Regions from separate parts of the Homo sapiens genome. Here all the other regions are linked to region 1. The links are contacts of gene promoters, found by promoter capture Hi-C in human tissues and cell types (Jung and others, 2019). All regions are on one chromosome and are shown on one strand. Each heading gives the region's core, a stretch centred on a gene start or on the middle of the fragment in contact. The rest is flanking DNA. Distances are from core to core; before and after follow the strand shown. Region 1 holds the start of EXT1 (exostosin glycosyltransferase 1). Region 2 overlaps LOC105375721 (a long non-coding RNA gene). Region 3 overlaps SAMD12 (sterile alpha motif domain containing 12). Region 4 has its middle 150 kb from the start of SNORD168. Region 5 holds the start of LOC107986970 (a long non-coding RNA gene). Region 6 overlaps LOC105375721 (a long non-coding RNA gene). Region 7 overlaps LOC105375721 (a long non-coding RNA gene).

The links. The method cuts DNA at HindIII sites, captures the fragments that hold promoters and counts their contacts. A contact is called where the count stands out against the background at its distance.
Region 2: a fragment that was not itself captured here is called in contact with the fragment with the promoter of EXT1 in region 1 in 2 of the 25 tissues and cell types used here (liver and mesenchymal stem cells).
Region 3: a contact is called between a fragment that was not itself captured here and the fragment with the promoter of EXT1 in region 1, in 2 of the 25 tissues and cell types used here (adrenal gland and dorsolateral prefrontal cortex).
Region 4: a fragment that was not itself captured here is called in contact with the fragment with the promoter of EXT1 in region 1 in 1 of the 25 tissues and cell types used here (heart left ventricle).
Region 5: a contact is called between a fragment that was not itself captured here and the fragment with the promoter of EXT1 in region 1, in 1 of the 25 tissues and cell types used here (dorsolateral prefrontal cortex).
Region 6: a contact is called between a fragment that was not itself captured here and the fragment with the promoter of EXT1 in region 1, in 3 of the 25 tissues and cell types used here (adrenal gland, heart left ventricle and lymphoblastoid cells).
Region 7: a fragment that was not itself captured here is called in contact with the fragment with the promoter of EXT1 in region 1 in 1 of the 25 tissues and cell types used here (aorta).

What each region holds. Positions count from the first base shown.
Region 1 is chr8:118,110,507-118,114,028 of GRCh38, reverse strand. It overlaps EXT1 (exostosin glycosyltransferase 1), which reads left to right and starts at 2,203. Exons shown (of 11, transcript NM_000127.3): 1 at 2,203-3,522. The coding sequence starts at 2,983. RefSeq lists silencers at 1,781-2,160, 2,261-2,350. The HindIII fragment of the contact is 7,998 bases long and covers 1-3,522 here.
Region 2 is chr8:117,668,354-117,671,992 of GRCh38, reverse strand. All of the region lies in intron 5 of LOC105375721 (a long non-coding RNA gene), which reads left to right. Among named protein-coding and RNA genes, the nearest start is that of MED30, 150 kb to the right of the region's middle. The HindIII fragment of the contact is 3,719 bases long and covers 1-3,431 here.
Region 3 is chr8:118,567,949-118,571,455 of GRCh38, reverse strand. The region is part of intron 2 of SAMD12 (sterile alpha motif domain containing 12); the gene reads left to right. Among named protein-coding and RNA genes, the nearest start is that of SAMD12-AS1, 51 kb to the left of the region's middle. The HindIII fragment of the contact is 5,474 bases long and covers 1-3,507 here.
Region 4 is chr8:117,765,524-117,769,072 of GRCh38, reverse strand. No RefSeq gene overlaps it. Among named protein-coding and RNA genes, the nearest start is that of SNORD168, 150 kb to the left of the region's middle. The HindIII fragment of the contact is 3,110 bases long and covers 14-3,123 here.
Region 5 is chr8:117,737,384-117,740,908 of GRCh38, reverse strand. LOC107986970 (a long non-coding RNA gene) reads left to right here and starts at 13. Exons shown (of 2, transcript XR_001746051.1): 1 at 13-106; 2 at 2,579-3,525. The HindIII fragment of the contact is 4,228 bases long and covers 1-3,525 here.
Region 6 is chr8:117,687,527-117,691,021 of GRCh38, reverse strand. The region is part of intron 4 of LOC105375721 (a long non-coding RNA gene); the gene reads left to right. Among named protein-coding and RNA genes, the nearest start is that of MED30, 170 kb to the right of the region's middle. The HindIII fragment of the contact is 4,702 bases long and covers 1-3,495 here.
Region 7 is chr8:117,704,680-117,708,171 of GRCh38, reverse strand. All of the region lies in intron 3 of LOC105375721 (a long non-coding RNA gene), which reads left to right. Among named protein-coding and RNA genes, the nearest start is that of MED30, 190 kb to the right of the region's middle. The HindIII fragment of the contact is 3,619 bases long and covers 1-3,487 here.

The DNA.
Region 1 (3,522 bases), core at 954-3,453:
AGCTCCCCCTAAGGTCATGCAAAACAACTGGCAAGATATAGAGGGGCCAGGCGAGGTGGCTCATGCTGTAATCCCAGCACTTTGGGAGGCCAAGGTGGGCAGATCACTTGAGGTCAGGAGTTCGAGACCAGCCTTGCCAATACAGCAAAACCCCATCTCTACCAAAAATAAACAAAAATTAGCCAGGGCTGGTGGTGCACACCTGTAATCCCAGCTACTCCGGAGGCTGAGGGAGGCAAATCACTTGAATCTGGGAGGCAGAGTTTCTAGTGAGCCGAGATCCTGCCACTGCACTCCAGCATATATATATATATATATATATATATATATATAGAGAGAGAGAGAGAGAGAGAGAGAGAGAGAGAGAGAGAGAGAGAGAGAGAGCACCTCCAGTCCCACAGCCCCACTTCACAGGGCTGAGATAATCTGCACCCTGATCAGAAGAGAAGGCCTCCTGCCTTGAACTGTTGTTCTTAGCAACTTGGGCTGGGGGGAGCTTTGGGTCACATGTGGTTTCAATCACTGCCTTTATCTGCATCATTGTCACTGTATTTGGAAGATGACTGAATCCTTATTCCTGTCCCAGGCCTCTCTACATTGTGCAGGGGGTTCAAGTCAAATCTGGAAAAGCTGTCTCATCTTTGGCAGGTCAGAAATAGGGAGAGGCTTCACGAATGTATAGTAATGTCCCACCCATGCCCCTTCCCTGCTTTATTAAAACAAATCTGAAACAACAGAGGTCTGAAACTTTCCACTCTATCATTTCATACTGCCTTGTTATAACCCTGCCCTTCATCCACACCCCGCTGGGGTTTTTGCAGCCTGAGGGAAGCCGGGAAGTGTCTGCTCCTAGCTCTCAGTCACTCCCATAATAAACAATCACTAAACAGCCGGCTGCCCTAGGCAACTGTCTAGCTTGCCCGAGCCCTGAGACTTTAGCTAGGCCAGAGGGTGGGAGGTGTTTTCTGTAAAGCAGTGTTCAGGATCTGAGGCCAGGGAGTTTGACTTTGACCAGAGATACTGTTTGGGAGCCTAGCACATCTTTGTGGACCTGGAGGATCTTTAGCGGGACTGCTCCTCGGTTACCTGAGTTATCTAATGAAGTTCTTCCACTGGGAGTGGCAGGAGCTTGGGCCAAGGAGTGGGAGGTCAGTGAGGGAAGGACCAACTATTTGGCACTAATTGTACATAAGGTAGTTTTCCTGATGCAAGTGTTCCTTCTATAGCTGGGACAGTTGGCAATTCTACCAGTCATATGTCCTTAAGAGATATCTTTAACACCACCACCACCACCACCACCACCAAGAGAATAACATCACTTTGAGGACTGGGGCAAGCTTAAATTAACTGGTTTCCCTGCAGCCATTAGAAAATTTATTTTTTCTCTGTGATTGGATCTCTTGGAAGCTTTCTTCATAATAGACAGAGGGGGCTCAGGCAAGGCGGCCTAAGTAGATAATGAGGATTTAGGATAGCCGTCTTACACTCTTAGCACAGAGGCAGGCATGAAGAATTGCAACAATTCCTCTTGATTGTAATAATTCCTCTTTATTGTTGGGCATTGGGGTGTTTCTTTGGTTTAAAAAAATGTGCTATGTAGAGGAGGAGTAAGGGGAGATTGTTTTAATGCTTAGCAGAAAATTGAAATACTGGGTCTCGGAGAGTGGAAGGAGGGCTGGGAGAGGCAGCTTTCGGATCGGCGGTCGCTTTCTATGAAGTCTTCCTTTCCTCCCTGCTTCCCTCCTTCAAAGCATCTTTCTCTAGGCGTTCCGGCAGGCAGCCCAGGAGGCCAGATTCTCCAGGGCGCCCGGGGCCGCGCGGCACGGGGCCCCTGCCGGTGCCTCCTTCCCCGGCCGCCGCGTTTCCGCAGGCGCCTCTGGTCCCCGGCACGGCGCAGGCCGAGATCCGGGCCTGGGCGCGCCGAGGGGCCGCGGGGCTCGCACCGGGCCGTCCCGCGCTCCACCTGCCCGGCAGCCCGCCGGCAGCTTGCAACCCGGGAGCCCCGGCTCCCTGCGCCCCCTACGCCCCCAACGCCGCGCCGGCGCCTCGGCCCGCGGCCGGGGGTTATGAATGGGCGCAGCGGAAGCACCGCCCCCCCCGGACGTGACGCTCGGCCAATGGCAGCGCGGGCTGCGTGGATGGATGAGGTCAGCGCTGTCGTGTCGGGAATGGAATGTGTAAGTGTAACATTCAGAACCGGGTAACATTCGGCGACCGAACGCGGCGGTCGGCAGCGTTCGCGCGGGGGCCTGCGAAGCGCTGCTCGGGGCCGGCACTGCCCGCGGGGAGGACGCGCCGCCGCCGCCACCCAGCGCCGCCGCCGCCGCCGCCTCCAGCCGGGCCGCCGCGCGTCCCGGGGGCCGGCCCCGCGAGCGCAGGAGTAAACACCGCCGGAGTCTTGGAGCCGCTGCAGAAGGGAATAAAGAGAGATGCAGGGATTTGTGAGGTTACGGCGCCCCAGCTGCAAGATGCACTAGCCGGCTGAACCCGGGATCGGCTGACTTGTTGGAACCGGAGTGCTCTGCACGGAGAGTGGTGGATGAGTTGAAGTTGCCTTCCCGGGGCTCATTTTCCACGCTGCCGAGAGGAATCCGAGAGGCAAGGCAATCACTTCGTCTTGCCATTGATTGGGTATCGGGAGCTTTTTTTTTCTCCCCTCTCTCTTTCTTTTCCTCCGTCTTGTTGCATGCAAGAAAATTACAGTCCGCTGCTCGCCCGCCCTGGGTGCGAGATATTCAGCCCCGCTCTCTCCCGTGCATTGTGCAACCCAAAGATGAAAGACCGAAGGGGAGAAAGTTAAAGAAATCGCCCACATGCGCTGGATCAGTCCACGGCTTGGGGAAAGGCATCCAGAGAAGGTGGGAGCGGAGAGTTTGAAGTCTTTACAGGCGGGAAGATGGCGGACTGGAGCTGAAAGTGTTGATTGGGAAACTTGGGTGATTCTTGTGTTTATTTACAATCCTCTTGACCCAGGCAGGACACATGCAGGCCAAAAAACGCTATTTCATCCTGCTCTCAGCTGGCTCTTGTCTCGCCCTTTTGTTTTATTTCGGAGGCTTGCAGTTTAGGGCATCGAGGAGCCACAGCCGGAGAGAAGAACACAGCGGTAGGAATGGCTTGCACCACCCCAGTCCGGATCATTTCTGGCCCCGCTTCCCGGACGCTCTGCGCCCCTTCGTTCCTTGGGATCAATTGGAAAACGAGGATTCCAGCGTGCACATTTCCCCCCGGCAGAAGCGAGATGCCAACTCCAGCATCTACAAAGGCAAGAAGTGCCGCATGGAGTCCTGCTTCGATTTCACCCTTTGCAAGAAAAACGGCTTCAAAGTCTACGTATACCCACAGCAAAAAGGGGAGAAAATCGCCGAAAGTTACCAAAACATTCTAGCGGCCATCGAGGGCTCCAGGTTCTACACCTCGGACCCCAGCCAGGCGTGCCTCTTTGTCCTGAGTCTGGATACTTTAGACAGAGACCAGTTGTCACCTCAGTATGTGCACAATTTGAGATCCAAAGTGCAGAGT
Region 2 (3,639 bases), core at 323-2,822, 440 kb after region 1:
TTCTTTTTAAGATGAACAGCAAACCCAGGAAAGTGGTGCATTTATCATTTTTGTCAATCCCTTTCTAGAACTGGAACACTAGGGATGATGGCATACAGTGTCATCCCCTTAGGAACAGAGAATATACCATAACTCAGATAAGGCAGGCAGGTATTGCTACCACTCTTCTGTACACAGCAGCCATTAATGGGTTTTTGAGCAAATAAGGCATTATTCAGTGGACACTTTTAGAAGGCTAATCTGGGATCAGTGTTTAGAGAAGATTAGGGGTCAGAAAAAAAATAGAGGAAGATAGACTATGAGATTGTTGTACTAGTCCAAACTTATAATGTTGGGGGTTTGGACCCAGGTCAGGAAGATGTGGGTATGAGTAATAATTCAATGCAAGTGCACCCACAGACCTTAATAACTAGTTGCATATTGGAGATGGTGTGCAATGGAAATAATCCTGGTCTAAGCATCAGGAAGAAGGGAATTTTCAAGGTAAGGTGGAGGCTTAGTTTTCTATTTTGTAAAATGAAAGAATTGAACTAGAATGATCTCTAATTCCTTTCCAGGACTAACATTTTAAGATACAAAGATTGTAAGTCATTACAAGTTTGCCCTCCATTCCCTGTAGGGAGGCCTCACATCAGGAAACAACAAAAGGTTCAGCTCCTATTTGATGTCTCCCTGACTTCTCACTGACACCCAAGCACCCCACATAGATGCCTGGCTAACTGAGGTCCTCAGTTTTACAACCATATTACCCTTTCTGATCTTTCTCTAGAGCCAAAAATTGTCTGTCTTAGATGTACTTATGTTGGTGGATTGTGTCTCATAAACTAACTTGTAGTAGGGGATAAAATAGCCTATAATGGTTACAGCATTTTTTTTCTAGGAGATAATAATATTTTATCTTTGTATAGTCAGTCCAATTTTTAGAAATATTCACATTTCATTTAGATTTTTCAGGAACACTGTAAGGCATATAGACATTGGTGGTATCCTTATGCATTTTTCACAGATGAAGAAACTGAGACTTGGAACAATTAAGTAGTTTGTACAAGATCACACAGCCAGTAAGTGGCAAAGACAGCATGGGATACAAGCTTTCTGACTCCAAGTCCAACGCACTTTCCGCTATATTAGCATAATTGTGAACATTTTAAGTCCCTGGGCAAGAATATAGAGGAAGTACTTTCAGGCCAGGGGCATTTGAAACCATGCAAAGATCACCGTTTGGCCTGTTTTTCTACTTCCAAGCACAGTCCCTGCAACCATCTCAATACTCTGCCTAGTAACCCAGAGCAATAATGGTCATAATTACACTTTCTCTCTGCCCATCCCAAAGAACATTTAGTATATTAATGTTGTTAATTAATCTTCATGACATCCTAGCAAATGAAGCAGATTGCAAGTCGGAAGTCCCACTTGGCTGACTGGGAAGCTGAGGTAGAAGGCAAGGTTACAGAACTGCCTCAAGGTGAGAATAAATCAGCTGGGTTGCTGAGCCAAGAATAGCCTTTTCACAGTGAAAGCTTAAAACTCTATTGGGGAGGGGCTCTCACTATTCTCCTTAGAAGATTACTGTTCAGTCACTAGAAAAAAAAAATTGCCACTTTAAAGCCAAGATTTTCTTTTCTTTATTATTTCTTAATGCTTTTGAATTTGCTGTATCTCTTTCTTTGGGGTTCCCACATTTTTGCAATTGAGGTAGTTCAATCTTTCTCTCTTCTGGGAAAACATGCCTGATTTTTCTGCAGATGACAATCTTCTGTACCCCCTTAGTGTCACCTCCCCATTATCTTCTCTGAGAATGGGTTACACCAATTTTTAACGGGCTCTCAGGAATTTGTCTCATTGGTCTTTCCTTCCCTTACTCAGGGATGTAGAATGGAGCCTTGGCTTTACAGCATACATTTCTACATTGGAAAAGCATTTGTTTCCAATGTTGTATTTTAATGTTTTACTGCATCAGAGAAAAGATGGAGTGACTTCATCTCTCTGTGTTAAAAATGATGACTATGTCCACAACCACGTGGTCAGTCCACATTCTGTGTGGTTTCTGTGGTTACTGCAGCATTTGGGGATCAAGCTGGTGTACCAATGACTGATTACCCTGTGGCAAAGCTGAAGAGGAGAGTGTTGTTTCTCTGTGGCAGGGAGTCCGGTTACACTGGAGGAAAGGGGATGGGATTCCTGTAGGCTGACAGGAAGACTGTAGTTATCTGTGGGAAAAGGAATGATTATGTTGCTCTGTTGTTGGGAAATGTGGTTGCCTTTAACCTTGAGCCTGACCAAAGAATCCTGTAATGATTTACTTTGACACTGTATTTACACCCCCTACAATAATTAACCATCTTTCAAACATCACGAGGAAGTGGGTTATCAAAATAATATTACTCTGACGGTAAAAGTATCTTAAAAGCCCAAGCCACGGAGTTCAGCAAAGACAAAAAGGCCAAACAAAGCCCACACCAAAACATTACCAAAATATTTACTGGGCCTCTTTTCAAAATCATTTTCTGTGACCTTTTTCAAAAAGCTTCATGTGATACAGACAGGTAGTAGAGGCATGGGAAAGAGCCCAAGTTGTTTTTCTGCTCATCTGCTTGCTCAATATTTATCTTCTGTGATTTGGGACAGACCAAATGGTACAAAGAAAGATGAAAATGCTGATAGAGTTCTAGCAGCTTCAAGGGTGGGGAAGGTAAATAGATACTATACATGATGCTGCCGCCTTTCCTGAGTTCACCACACACATCAAGAATGGATCACATCCCTCTTCCCTGCTGAGCCTGTCCTCAGTTTCACAGTCTTTCTCATCAAGGCACTAAACATAGCAACGACCAAGTTATAGGACTTGGTTCTCCAGTTGAAAACCTTTCATAATGTCTCTGTTTTAGAGATGTTTTAGTCCATTCTCATGCTGCTTTAAAGATACTACCTGAGACTGGCTAATTTAGAAAGAGGTTTAATTGACTCACAGTTCTGCATGGCTGGGGAGACCTCAGGAAACTTACAATGATGGCAGAAGGTGAAAGGGAAGCAAGGGACGTCTTATATGGCAGCAGGAGAGAAAGACAGAACGAAGGGGAAGGGCGACACATGTACAAAACAACCAGATCTCTTGAGAATTATATCACTAGAACAGCAAGGGAGAAGTCACAATTTGAGATGAGATTTGGGTGGGGACACAGAGCCAAACCATATCATAGAGCAAGCTGATTAGCTCTGCTTTTCTCCAGAATAAAACCAAAGGTACAGAGAAACATAGTGTGGGTGGTGAGTATGTTGGGTTGGTGTTAATGTAGTTAAGATATTTTCCAAGAGATCTGGGTGAATCCAAATTCTGGGACTGTGATAGAATTATCTCCAAATTTAGGACACTTAAAAATACTGCATCATTAACAAAACAAATGCCATTAAAAACATTAATGTTTTACCTTTTGAATTAAAAGTTTGATAATACAAAGTCTGGAGAGGGTTTGTGGACATGTATCTCATATATCTTGGGAAAGAATTAAGGGATATCATACTTTTGGAGAGCAATTTAGGAATATTTAAAAAATTAAATTCATAAACCATTAGTTCAAGTAATTCTACTTCTACAAATGTGTTTCCACAAGTATTTAAGGATATCCTTAAAGTTCTAAG
Region 3 (3,507 bases), core at 469-2,968, 460 kb before region 1:
TTTCCTTCCTCGTTAGTTATGCAAATTTCTGCAAATTTCTGCAGCCAGCTTGAATTTCTCCCCAGAAAATGGGATTTTCATTTCTATCGCATTGTCAAGCTGCAAATTTTTTGATGGCCTTATTGATCACTGTCAGCATTTTTGTCAAAGCTGTTCAACAAGTCTCTAGGGAGTTGCAAACTTTCCCACATTTTCCTGCCTTCTTCTGAGCCCTCCAACCTGTTCCAGCCTCTGCCTGTTACCCAGTTCTAAAGTCACTTCTACATTTCTGGGTATCTTTTCAGTAGCGCCCCACTCCTAGTACCAATTTATTGTATTAGTCCACTCCTAGTACCAATTTATTGTATTTATACAATACAGTTTATTGTATTATTGTATGCTGCTGATTAAGACATACCTGAGACTGTGCAATTTATAAAAGAAAGAGGCTTAATGGGACTTACACTTCCACGTGGCTGGAAGTGGAAGCCTCACAATAATGGCGGAAGGTAAGGAGGAACAAGTCATGTCTTACATGAATGGCAGCAGGCAAAGAGAGCTTGTGCAGGGGAACTCCTCTTTTTGAAACCAACAGATCTCGTGAGACTTATTCACTGTCACAAGAACAGCATGGGAAAGACTTGCCTGCATGATTCAATTACCTCCCACTGGGTCCCTCCCACAATATGTGGGAATTCAGGATGAGATTTGGGTGGGGACACAGCCAAACCATATGACCCGGGAATCTCATAACTGGGTATAATATACCCAGAGGAATATAAATCATTCTATTATAAAGATACACGTATGTTCATTGCAGCACTATTCACGATAGCAAGGATATGGAATTAAACTAAATTCCCATCAATGGTAGACTGGATAAAGAAAATGTGGTATATATCCCCATGGAATACTATGCAGCCGTATAAAAGAATGAGATCATGTCATTTGCAGGGACAAGGATGGAGCTGGAGGCCAATATCCTTAGTAAATTAACACAGGAACAGAAAACCAAATACAACATGTTCTCACTTATAAGTGGGAGCTAAATCATGAGAACACATGGATATATAGAAGGGAACAACACATACGGGACCCTGTGAGAGTATGGAGGATGGGAGGGGGTAGAGGATTGGGAAAGATATCTAATGGGTACTAAGCTTAATACCTGGGTGATAAAATAATCTGTACAATAAGCCCCCTGACACAAGTTTACCTATATAACAAACCTGTACATGTACCCCTGAACTTAAAAGTTAAAGTCTCTGATTGCCTGAATAAGGCCCTATGACTTCTGCTACCCTCTAGCGTTGGCCAAGATTTCAGATGGTGTGGCTCTTTCACCCTCCTCTGCAAGCTCTATTCAGGGTCCCTGGTGTAAGCATCAGCTGGCTCCCGTGATTTCTGCCCCATCTCCCTGATCTGGCCCAAACTTGAAGGAAATGGAAAACAGCTTCTTCTCTTTCTCTTTAAGTGATTAGGAACTCCTCACTTAAACTGAAAAATTGGATCACCAGGTGCCAAGTAAAACCTGAAATATTATTTCCAAGGCTGTATGGATTAGAAATCGTTTTCAAATGTTGATTTCACACATACCCTTAGATATATGCTGTATTAGTCAGCCTCAGCTGCTGTAACAAATTACTGGAGACTTGGTAGCTTAAACAAGAGACATTTATTTCTCACAGTTTTGAAGGCTGGGAAATCCAAGATCAAGGTGCCAGCTGAGTCAGTTCCAATGAGGATGCTCTTTCTGTCTTGCAGAGACCACCTTTTCACTGTGTTCTCATATGGCAGAGAGAGTGAGCTAAGGTGTCTGTTTCTCCTCTGTGTGGATGCCATTCTCATCATGGGGCCCTCCACCCTCATTGACATCATCTAAACCCGTAATTACCTCTCAAAGGCCCTACTTTCAAACAACACCTTATTGGGGGTTAGGGCTTCAACCTATCAGTTTTAGGAGGCACAAACATTTTGTCTGACTTATACAGATTAAGTATCCTGTATCCGAAATGCCTGGGACCAGACATGTTTTGGATTTGGGATTTTTTTTAGATTTTGGAATATTTGCATATTCCAAGTTCAGTATCTCATCCAAATGAGATATCTTGGAGATGGGATCCAAGTCTAAGCATGAAATTCATTTATGTTTCATATACATCCTATATATATAGCCTGAAGGCAATTTTATACAATATTTTAAATAATTTTGTGCATGAAACAAATTTTTGGCTGTGTTTTGACTGGCCTATAATATGAGGTCAAGAGTAGAATTTTCTACTTATGGCATGATGTCATTACTCAAAGTTTTGGGTTTTGGAGCATTTCGATTTTGGATTTTTAGATTAAGGTTGTTCAACCTGCACCAAATTTGCATTTTGGCCAAATGCCAAATGGCTGAGTGTTAAATCACTATTGGCTGAAGTTGAATATCACCATCATAAAACAAATATCTTAGTATACAAGAATAAATCTGAACTATTAATAAGAATACCTATTTACTACAACTTAATTAAAATTATACCAAGCAGAATTTTTTAAAATTGGCATTACAGAGCAGTGGTAATAATTTCTCAGCTGTCAGCTCCTGTGGTTGTTCTATTGCGTATTTATGATACTGAAAATATGCTTTTTCAACTGAGGTCAGTGAAGGAGCAAAATACGCTTTTATCAAGCTCTGCTATTACTGTAGTAGTGTTAATGGTGATATTCCCCCCAAGTCAATAAGCTTTCCTCCTCTCCAATAATAACTGACTAAAGTCAATAACTCCTGGACTTGCCATCTTGCTGATGGTCATGATGAAGTTTCATTGAAACAGTCCCATAAATTAAAGCTTTGGATTGTACAAGGTGATTTTTTTAAATTCTCAAAATCAGGCTCAATTTTGTTTTTCTCACTTGAGGGTTTTCTTCTTAAGCAATGTTTTCACAATATTCATTATAAAACATGACCCTCAATTCAGCAACCAGAATGATCTTGTTAATGTGTGAGTCAGATCATGTCCCTCTTCTGCTCAAAATCCTCTAATCACATCCTGTTTTTCTCAAATTAAAGCCAAAGTCCTTAGTGCCCTACCAGATCCTGCATGATCTGTGCCTTGGCAAGTCCCTCCTGTCATCTGCTACTAGGCTTTTCTATGCTCATTGCTGCTCCTAGTTCAAACCAGGTACCTTCCCACCTCCAAGCCTTTATACTGGCTGTTACCTCTGCCTTGAATCTTCTTTCCTTGGGATGCACAAGGTGCACCCCTTCATTTCCTTCAAATCTTTGCTCTAGTATCACCTCCCCAGTGAGGCTGAAATGGTCAGTTCTATTAAAATAGTGTCCTCTCTTCCAAGGCCCCTGATCCCTGATTCTGTCTTGTAATTTCTTTACCCCACTAACACACTCACCACTTTCTAAAACCATACATAATTTATGTTTATTATTATTTTAGGTCATCATCCACTAGAGTGTGAACTCTGTGAGGCAGGACCCCATGTTTAGTGACATGTCTTTGATACTAACAGCCATATCTAATACATGGA
Region 4 (3,549 bases), core at 319-2,818, 340 kb after region 1:
AAGGGCTGGCATTGAGTGCCTAAAACTTTTCCATGGTGCAAAGCTGTCAGTGGATATACCACTCTGGGGTCTGGAGGATGGTGGCCCTCTTCTCAAAGCTCTACTAGGCAGTGCCCCAGTGGGGACACCATGTGGGGGCTCCAACCCCACATTTCCCCTCTGCACTGCCATAATAGAGGGTCTTCATGAGGACTCCACCCCTGCAGCAGACTTCTGCCTGGACATCCAGGCATTTCCATACATTCCTCTGAAATCTAGGCAGAGGCTCCCAAACCTGAACTCTTGCCCTCTGTGCACCTGCAGGCTAAACACCATGTGGAAGCCACCAAGGCTTACAACTAGCACCATCTGGAGCAATGGCCTAAGGTGTATCTTAGGCCCTTTTATCTATGGCTGGAGCTGGAGTGGCTGGGTTGCAGGGATCAGTGTCCCTAGGTTGTGCAGGGCAGCAGGGCAGCAGGGCCTGGCCCACAGAACCATTCTTCCCTACTAGGCCTCCAGGCCTGTGATGGGAGGGCCTGCAGTGAAGGTCTTTGTAATTTTCAAGGAATTTTCCCCATTATCTTGGCTATTAACATTTGGCTCCTCTTTGCTTGTGCAAATTTCTGCAGCCAGCTTGAATTCCTCGCCAGAAAATGGGTTTTTAATATTCTACCATATGGCTGGGCTGCAAATTTTCCAAACTTTCATGTTCTACTTTCCATTTAAATATAAGTCCAGTTTTAGATCATCTCTTTTCTCACACATATAAGCATACACTGTTAGAAGCAGCCAGGCCATGTCTTGAACACTTTGCTGCTTAGAAATTTCTCCCACCAGATACCCTAAGTCATCTCTCTCAAGTTCAAAATTCCACAGATCTCTAGGGCATGGGCATAACGGCTGAAATCTCTTTGCTAATGCTTAACAAAAGTGACCTTTGCTCTAGTTCTCAATGAGTTCCTCACCTCCATCTGAGACCTCATCAGCCTGGACTTCATTGTCCATATCGCTATCAGCATTTTGGCCACAACAATTTAACAAGTCTCCAGGAAGTTCCAAACCTTCCCTCATCCTCCTGTCTTCTTCTGAGCCCTCCACACTCTTCCAACCTCTGCCCATTACCCAGTTCCAAAGTTTCTTCCACATTTTCAGGTACCCTACTCTTGGTACCACTTTTCTGTGTTAGTTCATTCTTGCACTGATATAAAGAACTACCTGAGATTGCATAATTTATAAAGAAAAGAGGTTTAATTGGCTTGTGGTTCCTCAGTGTGCACAGGAAGCATGGCTGAGGAGGCCTCAGGAAACTCACAATCATGGCAGAAGGTGCAAGGGAAGCAGGCATGTCCTATATGTCTGGAGCAGAAGGAAGAGAGAGAAGGGGGAGGTGCTACACACTTTTAAACAACCAGATCTTATGAGAACGCACCCACTATCACAAGAACAGCAAGGGGGAAATTTGTCCTCCATGATCCAATCACCTCCCACCAGTCCTCTTGTCCAACATTGGGGATTACAATTTGAAATGGGATATGGGCAGGGACATAAACCCAAACCATATCAACATAAAAGCACAGAAATATATTTAAAATGTTCAATATTTCAATAGATACTATTTTATGTCTGCTTTTGGGGATATTCTACTCTATGTCCATCATTGTCTTTAATTACAATCTTTACATCCAGGGACACTCTGTTATGTTCATTCCATGCAGGTCCCATTCCTGTTCTTTGAGCACACCAGGCAAGCTTCTGCTCCAAAGCCTTCACATTTTCTGTTTCCCTTGCCTTGAGTACTCTTACCTCAAGATATCTGCATGGTTGGCTCTCTCACTTCTTTCAGAATTTCACTTCAAGTCATCTTTTCAATGAGTGCTTTCCTGACCACTGCATCTAAAATGTCAAACCCCTTGAGCTAACACTTCCTTTCCCTTTCTCAGATTTTTCTTTTCTCTATTGTACTCACCACTACCTAATATATTACAGATTTTTCTTCTTAATCTTATTGTTTTCTCCTCTAATAAAATGTAAGCTCTAAGATAGTGGGGGTTTTGGTCTGTTTTGTACATCCATTATGATGTCTCTAGTGCCTGTAGCAGTAATAATACCCCACTCAATAAATATTTGTATAATTAATGGATAAAATGAGTTGAATACAGTGGGAAAGCTATGGTTTATAATTGAAAAATAGAGATGTTTGTGCAACAGCAGAAAGGTAATACTTACTGGATTTTCAGAAGATGGATAGATCACAACTGGTGAATATGTCCTCCAAGGCCATAACATAACAGCTGGATCTAAGAGGATAAATGGTAGGTGGAAATGGAGATTTGAGGGATTCCAGGTACAGAGTAACTCTTGGATAGGAATCAGAGAGGGAAACGTGGGGTATATATGGGGAATTTTGAGAAGTCTTGTGAGAATGAGAATATTCAGGGGAGAGTTAGAAGATAAGGCTGGGGAAATCAGAACACAAAAGTTCTTAAATCTAAGACAGGGATTGTGATGTGTTTTTGTAGGGAAAGTGGACTTTTAAAGTTTTTCAGTAAGCAGGGAAGTGACAGAATTGGAGCTGTGCTTTATGAAAATCAATTCAGCGGGCCGGGCGCAGTGGCTCATGCCTTGTAATCCCTGCACTTTGGGAGGCCGAGGCAGGCAGATCACAAGGTCAGGAGATCGAGACCATCCAGGCTAAAACAGTGAAACCCCGTTTCTACTAAAAATACAAAAAATTAGTGGGGCATGGTGGCGAGCGCCTGTAGTCCCAGCTACTCGGGAGGCTGAGGCAGGAGAATGGCATGAACCCGGGAGGCGAGCTTGCAGTGAGCCGAGTTAGCACCACTGCACTCCAGCCTGGGCGACAGAGCGAGACTCCATCTCAAAAAAAAAAAAAAAGAAAATCAATTCAGCAATTAATAGAGTGGTTGGACAGCATAGGGGCAGGAGATGAATAGGCCAGTGATGAAGCCATGTTAATAATCCAACAAGAGTTAATGAGGGTCTGAATTAGGCTGACAGCAAATAGAATGGAGAGGAAGAGGCAGAAAGAAAAGGAGTAAAGGAGATAGAACTGACAGCTCTTGACAGCTGATCAGAAATGGGGGATAAGGGAGAAGAAGTCACATGTAACCGTGAAGCTTCAAGCTTGAGTATCTGACAGATGATGAAGACATTAACAAAATAAAAGAATTGAGGGGGAGAAACTGCATTGAGGATGGAGTTGGGATTTAGGTTCTTGATTGGATTTGGGATCCCTTATAGCACGCTTTGTCTTTGAGGGAGGCTTCACCCCTTCTTCCTGGGCCATTTTCCTCTGCCCTGTGGAAGCCCACGCTTTCTAGTCTAACCTGATACTGTCAGTGCTTAAGTGCTGTGGTGTCTCTATGGAGCAATCCCAGTGGGCTTTTCTGGGCTCTGCCATAAGATTTGGTGAAGCCTGAGTATGGTTCTAATTTCTTCATTTGTCTCTATTGGTCTCCTGCTGCAAAGCTAAAAACGATAATGATTCTCTGAGCCAAAGGATCAGGATCAATTGCCTGGAAGGCTAGGCTCAAAGAAAGCAGCCTC
Region 5 (3,525 bases), core at 504-3,003, 370 kb after region 1:
GAACTCCTAACCTCAGCGGATTCACCCACCTCCGCCTCCTAAAGTGCTGGGATTACAGGCATGAGCCACCGCGCCCGGCCAGGAGCACTGGACTGCAGACCAAGAGGTAGGTGCTATTATGAGCACCACTTTACAGTTAAGAAAATTAAAGTTTAGAAAATTAAAATAACTTGTCCAGGATCATACTGTTAATAAATGACAGCATCAGGATTTGAATTTAGAAAAACTGGCTTCCAGCTTCATCCATGTCCCTACAAAGACATGAACTCATCCTTTTTTATGGCTACATAGTATTCCATGGTGTATATGTGCCACATTTTCTTAATCCAGTCAAAAAACCAAACACCACATGTTCTCACTCATAGGTGGGAACTGAATAGTGAGAACACTTGGACACAGGAAGGGGAACATCACACACTGGGGCCTGTCGTGGGGTGGGGGAGGCGGGAGGGATAGCATTAGGAGATACACCTAATGTAAATGATGAGTTACACCAATATGGCACATGTGTACATATGTAACAAACCTGCACATTGTGCACATGTACCCTAGAACTTAAAGTATAATATGAAAAAAAGAAAGAAAAACTGGCTTCAAAGCCAGTTCTCTTACCCACTGCTGAAGAAGGTCTCAGGTTCAGGACCCAATTCAAGAAGCAAGGAAAGATCATCCGTCAGAAGACAGACTAGAAGGTTAAAAGCCAGGAAAAATAGTGCAGGAAACAAGAAATGAGATGAATTAGAGTGAATAGTTCAGGACTATGGCATGAATAATGCAAAACATTGAAATATGGTCCCGTTTTTTTGAACCCAAGTGTGTGGTAAGTTTGGAGGGAAGCAGTCAGTCCTAATGGCTTAAAGTTGCTTCTAGAGCTGGATCGTCTCTGCCCTCCTGCATGTAATGATCTAGCTATGACAATGAGAATTATAGGGCTGGGCATTGTGGCTCACGCCTGTAATCCAAGCACTTTGGGAGGCCGAGGTGGGAGGATCATTTAAGCCTAGGAGTTTGAGACGAGCCTGGACAACATAGGGAGAACTCTTCCCTACAAAAAATAAAAAAGTTCACTGGGGATGGTGGTGCATGCCTGTGGTCCTAGCTACTTGGGGGAAAGAGGTAGAAGGATTGCTTGGTCCTGGAAGGTTGAGGCTGCAGGGAGCCGTGATCACACCACTGAACTCCCTCCAGCCTGGATAACAGAGTGAGACCCTGTCTCAAAAAAAAAAATTGTATAGGGAAAAGATCAGTAAATTATTTCAGAAAGCAGATACTCTGGATTACATGGAGACTGTATGAGAGGCCTTTTTCTCAATTGCCATAACTCTGTTTTATAGAGATTGAGTTCACAGGCAAAAACTGGGCAGAGCCTTCCCCAGAGTCTGAAGTTCTGAGTGCCAGCGGACATCTGTCCCTGTAGTCTATGGAATTGTCTTTATGAGCAGCACTTTGAGAAAGCTGGACAGAGTATCGCTGGCTTACTCAGCTACAGTATGCCCAGTGGTGCTAGAAGAGGAGATTTTGCAGCCGGTTTGCATTGATACCTGACCTTGGCCCTTGGATACTATTCATGTGGGCCTTTCCCGAGAAGGCTTGTTTCCTTACTGTATTTGGCTAAGACAGCGGTCCTGTGGGTGGCTTCAGTATTATGTTTGGAACAGGGGAAGTATTGCAACACATGCCAAGAATTGACTTTTATTTTTAAAAGCTGCTTTTTGCAGAATCGAATATCTGTGACCTTCTTTGGTTACAGCAGATCTACACATGGTAATTGGCTTAAGGTCAGTGTCTTGGGCATCTTTTAGTGACAGGTATACACTTTATAGGACTATTCTCAAGAGGTACCACTTCCTTTCAGGACCACTTTACAATTTCTCAAACTCTTCATTATGGTTCTCATCTCTGCCCTTGTTTACACTGATTTGCTTTAGTGTCATGACAAGCTTTGTGCTCAAGATAGATTGCTTTGCTTTAGGAAAGAGGTGTATTTTGTCGTTTCACACTCCAGTGTCCTGTTCCTGCATGTGAGCACCAGGATCAAACAGTTCAAACATAAATCTGGGAGGTGGGGTTGATGGAGCAAATCAAGACCACCAATGTCTTGCCCTGTGCCTTGAGAAAGGCATTCACTTATCCTCTGCTTCAGGTGCTCCTTGGTAACCCAGGATGAGGGCATTCCCAAAAAGATCGGATGAGAGAATTGATGCATGACAAGACATTGGAGAGGTCTGGATAGATAAAAGCCTAGAAACTCCAGTGACACCATTACCTTCCAATCCCACTGGTCTCCAGTCTTCTCTTAATTGCTTAGTTGCAACTATGCCCTGATTTGGAGGGGATAAGTGTACTGGTAACCTAGAGGACACTGAGAGGGAATCCAGATTTCAAGAATTCAAAAGCAAAAGTGACCCAGTGGGTATCAGTAGACAATGGATATTTGTTTTCCCACTGCAGCATGGGGATCTTGATCTAGCTCAGTGAAGGTCATAGGCAAGATCAGTGTGCTAATGTGAGTGAGGCATTAGGGAAGTATGAAGTAGTGTTGTACTGCCTGCAGGTGGTCTACTTTCTCCTTCCTCAGCTCTGGCTCCGGAAACTGGAGGCATCCCTCTCCATCCAAGACTGGCCTGCCAAGCTGCCTGCTTAGAAGGACTTTGGAAGCAAGACAGAGCAGTGTCTTCATCAGATACCTGCCAAGGCAAGTGTTGCTCAGGATTGCCATCCAGTTGGCTATGTCTTCCTTTGAAATGTGCTTTTAGTTAGGTGATTGATGTATTTGATTTTTGACTTTGTTTAATATTGGGTATTAACTCAACGTTCTGTCTTGTGAGCTGTCAGCAGTTGAAGCAGTTTTGGAGGGAGGTTCTCAGAGTAAAGACTGCATCTCAACCTTTCAGATGTCTCTTCTTACCCAAGGGATTGAAAGGGTGAGGGATGTAAGGTGTAAAGAGAGGCCCTCTGACTCTTCCCCTAAGGGGTTAAATCTTACAAAACTTTCAAGGGATATCAAGGGTACTTTAAATTGATTTCAAAAATATCACCAAAAGGTAGAGCCCAAGAGAGCATTGTGCTCTGAGACACAAAATCTTATTTATCCACAGAAGGCAAAGGGATGCATGCGTGTTGTGTGAGTATGTGTGTGCAGCTTCCAGCAAGGAAAACGTGAGGAGAAAGGTGACAAATGAAGATTCCAGAATTCACTGGAAGAAAATTCCTGTTCTCTTTTCCCAAGACCGAACACAGAGAACTCATGAGAGATAAGGCATGTACGTTGAGTTCAAGGTCAAGAGAGATGGGACCAAAAATGCAAAGATGCAAAGATGTGGTAGAAAAACAAGAAACAGTAAGGTAAAAGTACCACAGCTCAAAGTAAGATAGCAGGTACCAGGAAAAACAAATCGCCATGTCTTCAGAGCTATCCTGGCCTCTGAGGGAAGCTCCTCTTCTACACCAAGCTCCAAATTGTATCCTCAAGGATAAATGCTGATAATGGATTAAGGTCAAGGCCATTTACTGTGCCACAATGCT
Region 6 (3,495 bases), core at 910-3,409, 420 kb after region 1:
CTTTTGCTGCCTCTTTTCCTGAATTGTCTCTTTCTCCTGGACTTCTTCGGATCAAAGCCCTGTTGGACCATAACATTTTGTTGCTAAATATTTTAAGAATTTTTGGATCTATTTTCAAGGGGAATATGGGCCTATAGTTTTTTTTTTTTTTTTGAAATGTCTTTGTCTGGCTTTATCAGAATAATGCTGGCCTCATAGAAAGAGTTGGTAAGCAATGTAGAGTTGGTTTAAATTCTTCTTTAAATATTTGGTAGAATTCACCGGTAAATCAATTTGGGCCTAGTGTTTCCTTTCTTTTCTTTTTTTCTTCTTTCCTCCTCTTGTTTAACTGCCCATACTTTAGGGGCAAGTCCTGCCCATTCTCTGCTCTGTCTAGCTTAGGCCTGGGACATCACAATTTTTAGCCTCTGGATTCCAGTGGATATTGCTTGTTCGTCTCCTAGAGAGACATGGAGATACCCTCTTCTACTCCCGCGGGGCTCCTTTCATGGGTTGTACCCAAATCGTTATGTGGTAGCAAGCTGTCTGTAAAGTAAACCGTGTTGTGCTTATAGAACTTTCTTCTCCGGATTCCCCAGCCCCACTCACAGTGCTGTCCTGAGACTTTCTGCAGCAGGTGTGGAGATGACTGATACTGCCATACCTAAGCTGCACCCAACAGCTCTGGGCACTCTGTGTGCAGCTACAGCTGACACAGGTTTGAAATCTGGGCCCAGGAAACCCAGGCTACCCGCACCCCTGCTTGAGGAGGAAACTCACCAGAGATCACATCACCCTGCCCCTCTCCAGTATCAAGAAATATTCAAATCTAGTTCCCAGCTTGTATCTTCCTTTTTGGTCTCGATGGAGAAGGCAGAGAGATAGTGATGGCTTTCCTCTATTTGAGGACTAGACACGCTTTCAGGGAGAGATGACAAACATTTGGGTACCTCTTCTATGTGAGATGGCCCAAAATGACAACCGTAAGCCCTGGAGGAAGGAATAATCAGGCACCGGGAAATGTGTCTTCTGCTTCCTCTCCTCTGGCCTTGGGTGAAAAGACATGGTCTGCTCATGTGGTTTTCTCCCAAGCAAGGGCATAGTTGCCTCTCTAACATCCTCTGGCACAATTGCAGATCGGTGTCTTGAAGTCCTGGGGCATGGAACTGAAAAACACCACAGAGGACAACTTATACATGCCACAAGATTTTTTATTTGGCATCCTTCAATGAACCTTATTCCTAGCCTGCTCTTATGGAGCCCATGGTAGGTTCCCACCACACAGGGAGGAATTCAGATATCACCCATCCTTGGAGTAGAAACCAAACTGGTTCTCGGTGCCAGAGTGGGGCAGGAGATTCTCCTTTGCCTTGGCCTAGGACCTCTAACTGGAGTGTAGCTATTCCCTTTCCAGGTTGAAAAATGCCTGGGATGAACTACAGTGGCAATGTCCATTCCCTTCTGAAGAAATCCCACCTTCTCTTGTAGCTGTATGATCTAGCCCTATGGTCAGACAAGATATCTCACAGCCACCCAAAACTGGCAAAATTCTCAAAGTCTAAATCAGTCAGTCTTATGCAGTGTTACCCATGGTCATCTTTCTAGATAAATGTAAAGACCTCTGCTTAGTGCCAAGATCATAATTCCCAAATTGTAGCCATTACCATTGATTGTCATTGTGATGATGATGATGATGACGATGGTAACTGCTACACCACATCCTGGTTTTAGGCATTATGTACCTGCCTTTGCCATTCGTATCTATTTTCCCTTCTATGCACCTAGCCTTTTAAATTCCAGAATGCTACAAGGCCTGTTATGGCCATGTTACCATGCTCTGGGACTTATTTTCCACATTTATAGAGAGTGTTAGAATATACACATTTTAAAGTCCCCTGCTATGTTAGCATTCTGTATTTCCAAGATTAATTTGCATGCAACTTAAATTTTTACCTATTTAAAGAGGAAAATTTTCCATTCACCTTGGTGACTGGGAGTCCTGTTATTTCCTTGACTGATACAATAGACTCTGCAGATGCACTGCAAGTATATAAGCATCAAGCAAATATATATTTCTAATGAATTATTTACATTGTGTGTAAGCTTTAGTGCAAGTGGTTTTGTTGAAATGGAATTACAAGTCAAAAATCAGTGCTAGACAAAGAGGAAAATCTTTCTCCACTTCCAGTTAGTTGGAGAAAAATATTACTGGGGGAAAGTGGAGGTTTTAAGGACTTTTGCCTGAAGGGAGGAGAGGAGGCCTGAAGGTATTTCGGCAAAGAGAGAGAAAGAAACTAATCTATTCATAGGGCATGGAATAAAAGAAAAATTAAAATGGAGAGAAAGAAGAGGAGATTTTGTTTACTTGGGTGGGCTCTGTGCAGGCTCTGTGCAAAACAAAGCAAAAGCCTAGGGCTCTCCCTGTTTCACTTACAGGCCAGGTGGAGCCTGTGTTAATGCCCAAGAAGAGTATTACGCACTTCATTAAGGAAGTAGACAAGAAACATTATGAAAATAATAATATCAATGAGACATAAGTATAGCCAATATTTATAGAGTGCTTACTGTATGTCAGGTCTTGAATAGAGTGCTTTATACATATGACCTTGTTTAATCATCCCAACATGTGGATGTAAAAGGTAACAGTATCACCTCCCCTTTACACGCAAACACACTGAAGTGTACAGCTGTCAACAATTTGCCCAAGGTCATGCAACTATTAAATGTTAGAGCTGGGATTCAAATTAAGGTTTGTCTAACTTCAAAGTGCTATACTAATTCTGATGCACTAAAATTCTTTGATTTTCATTTTAGTTCAATTCTTTGATTCTGATGTACTACATTGATTCTGATGTACTACATTGATTCTGATGCACTAAAATAAATACTTAAATAAATAAATAATCCAAATGTCCAGAAACAAACTAAGCTCTAAGGATATATTGTATTAGCTGAGCTCTTTGGTTGAGGTGAGCCTAGCTCATAAGCTTGAAATGTTCCCTCTTCAGAACATGGGCCATTTACACCCTCCAGACTTTCTAGAGAGTCAACCCATTTTCTCAGAAGTTGACTGCATTTCCTTTCCTGTCTAAGAATTGTAATTGGGATAACTTCATCACTGGTAGCTAAACCTTTGGAGTCACATGAATATAAAGAAATGTTATGACCCAGTGTGATGACTCACACCTGTAATTCCAGCACTTTGGGAGGCCAAGGCAGGAGGATCACTTGAGCCCAGGAGCTTGACGTTATAGTGAGCTATGATCATGCCACTGCACTCCAGCCTGGATGATAGAGAAGGACCCTATTTTGTATAAAAAAAAATTGATGTGTGATTTTCAGAAGAGGAAAGGTTATCTTTTTATATTTCCTCCCTCTCTCCCTTTCTTTCTTCCTTGCCAGTCTAAATAAAATCTGCCATTTGCCTCTCATGTTCCCCAAAGTCTTGCCTTTTGGAAGAAAAAAATGCCTGTCAAGTTTTACCCCAAAAGATATTGGAAGGCAAGTTTCAAGCCA
Region 7 (3,492 bases), core at 429-2,928, 410 kb after region 1:
GAGCTCATTGTGACACAGTTTTTTTTTGCCTTTGAAGACATCACAATTTAGGAAGATGTAGAAACCAATCTCTAAAGTCCACTTTACTTCTAGAGTACAGAGTATGATGCTTCATGGTTAGAAATGACTTCCAAAATCAGATAAAGATACAAACATCTGATAAAAACGCCTAAAACATGGATCTTATTCTTAATGAATTTGTTAATATAAAGAGGAAGGGCATAGGGATGAAAACCCATGGGCTAGAAAACAGAATGGGGTTGGAACCAAACAACAGATGGTCTAGTCAGCTGCTATGGAGCTCAGACAAGGGAGAGATCCCAGAGAGCTATCATTCAGCAGGGAAAGCTTCATTGACAAGATTGGCTCTGGAAGGGGCTTTCAAGGCTAGATTGGATTCTGGTTGGTTGCCTAGGTGGGAACTTTAAATCTCTGGGTAGGCGGGCCAGTAAGAGGGTGAGCAGGCAGTGCCGACCAAGCAGATTAGCCTTGCCTGGTGGCTGGGATCCCTATGGGGGAGGCTTAAAAAGTGCCTAAGGTAAGGATTTGTCATTAACAATGCCTGGATATTCGAAGATCTCCTAATGCCTCTGTATTAGATCAGATTTAGTTTCATCTGAAACAGCAAAGACTCAAGTATCTGTAGTTTAAGCAAGAGAAACATTTCTTTCTCTCTCAGATAGCTGAACATAAGCATTCAGGGGCTCACATGATTTCTCCATGGTTCGGGGAGTTAGGTTACTTCTATGATCTGAATGTTGGTATACCCCCAAAATTTATATGTTAGAACCCAATACACCAGGTGATAGTATTAAGTGGTCAGGACTTTTGGAAATGATTAAGTCTTGAGGGCTCCATCCTCATGAATAGGATTAGTGCTTTTATAAAAGAGACTGGAATGAGCTTCCCTTAACTCTTTCACCACATGAGGACACAGGATGAAGATGTCACCCATGAAGCAAATAGAGGGCCTTCACCAGATACTGGACCTGTTTGCACCTTGGTATTGGACTTCCCTGCCTCCAGAACCATGAGAAATACATTTTTATTGTTTATGAATGACATAGTCTGGGGTAATAGTGGCAATAATATTGAGTATTACTAATACTTAGTAATAGACTGAGACATTCCTGCACCAATTCCTGTCAAATTCCTGAGACCCTGGTTATAGCAGCAGGAAGGACTAAGCTACTATTATCTTGTTGTCTGCTTTCCAGAGGTCAGTGCCCTTGTCCACATTGTCTAAGATGATTAGCCACTGTGTCTGCGTTTCAGATACAGGAAGTGGGAAAGAGAAAGACACACATTCCTCCCCTATAAAGGCAGGACTTAGATGTGCATTCATCACTACTGTTCATAATCCGTCAGCTGGAACTCAGTCACATGACCACAGCTAACAGCAAGAGGGGCTGGGGAATGTAGTTTTATTCTGAGAATCCTTGTATTAAATCTCAGGGATTTCTAGACTGGAGAAAAAGAGAGGCATCAATTTCAGGACACAACCAGTCTTGGTTACAACCTCTTCTTCCAGGGAGCTGTTGAAGGGTTGAAGACCAGGGAGTCTTGAAGATTAAGAAACACATGTCCCAAGACTCTTAAGAATGGCTAATCCACTTCTTTCTTCCAGCTTCACACATTAGCTACATAATGAAATTAGGGGAAATGTAAGAAAAATAGAGATGATTTTTGCTGAGCACTGTTTCAGGAACTTTCCACAGCAATTTAATCTTCACAACATCATGATGAAGTAGCCATTATTATTGTCATTTTAAGGATGACGAACTGAGATTCAGAAACAGGAGATAAAGGTGAGAAACTAGCATCTTTGACTCATTAGAAAAGCCAGGCACTTTATATCCATTAAATATGCCAAGCATTTTATGTTTAATAACTCATTAAATCCTCATGATTCAATCAGATAAATACGATTTCCTTCTATATATGGGGACATATAGATAAACCTAGAATTTGGATCTGGGTCTAATTCCAAAAGTCAAAATATTTTCATTGTACAGATGTATTACTTATTGCTACTGTCAGCTACAAAGTTTTTTGGTATGGGTTGATTATTTTATTTACTCACGAGTTAACTAATTAATTAATTTTAACGAAGAATTTTTAAGCACCCAGGAGGTGTCAGGCACAAGTTCCTGACCTCTTAGAGCTCACTTTCTAGGTGAGGAAATATTCATTTATTGAAAAACAAACACTTATTATATGCTTCTTATGACCAAGACCTGGTATTACAAAGACAAAAAAGTATAATGATTGCCATACAATAGAAATCAATAAATATTGAGTTAATTAAAAACATAGCCCTTGGGAACACCACAATCTATTAGTGGTGGGATGCAGAACAATGTGAATTTGGGAGAGGATGGTTTGAATACTGTGCTATATTGGCTACAGCCGCCTATCCAAAGACTGTCTTTGGAAGAGCTGAATATGAAGGAACTGTTCTTCCCTGAGCTCCCTGTGAGTAGGATCTGCTTTGTAAACCAAGGACATGCAGAAGCGTGGGAGGAAGCAGCACCTGAACCTGGAGCCAGTGACTAGGAGATGAGCTCAGTCCTTGGCCAAGCCTGCTGCAGGTGTTGACTTTTTCTGCTAAAAAACCTGGTCATGACTTCAGGGTGATGAAGGGCAACTTGAGAAACAGACAAAAAGGCAAGAACTCCTTAAGTACATCTGTGTTAAATAATTTCTGGATTTGGTAATGAACTCAAGGTGTTTCTGAATCAGGTGAAAATGGGGGAAAATGTTGAGGAACACTTTCTGTTTATGCCCTTTTAGTTTCTCCCCCACCTCCTATCTCCCTCCAGGGTACTTCTGATCACACATGTAAGACTTATCTATGCTGGAGCCAAGGGTGATGATGGCTTTGTGACGGAGATTTCTTAAAGGAAGATACGAATTTTAATGTCTGGATAGGTGCTCAGATGGAAAAGGGTCTGAAAGGAGAGATTGCTGAAATAGAATGTTTCTAGATTGAAAAATGCCCTGGAAGGGAACATGGGAATCTCACCATTCCAGGCACCCCCATGGGGCTGCTGGGCTTTTTTTGTGGCATGATTACCATCTCCATTCGTATCTTATGGTTGGGCTGTTGATAGTTGTCAAGAGAATCTCTGATTCAGAGAGAGGAAAAATGGAGGGTAATAGCAGTTCTTTTTTGAACTGGGGCTATCTATTAACCTACCTTCTAATGGGATTGTATATTGGATTGGGAATAGCAAAACATTCTTTAAGTATAAGTACTTTTAGTCAGTGTGGGTACACACCCCCATAGTGGCATCATGTGTGGAAGTTCTTTAGGGGGAGAGAAAAAGATTAAAACCAAGACAAGCAAAGTAATCAATTCAAATATTTACATCCAAAATCAATGTTACTATTTACTTCATTACCTTAGAAAGCTGCACACTGATTCCAGTGGAGCTACCACTTAAGAAACATTTTTGGACTTTCTTTCTCATTTGTTTTTCAAAATGCCTT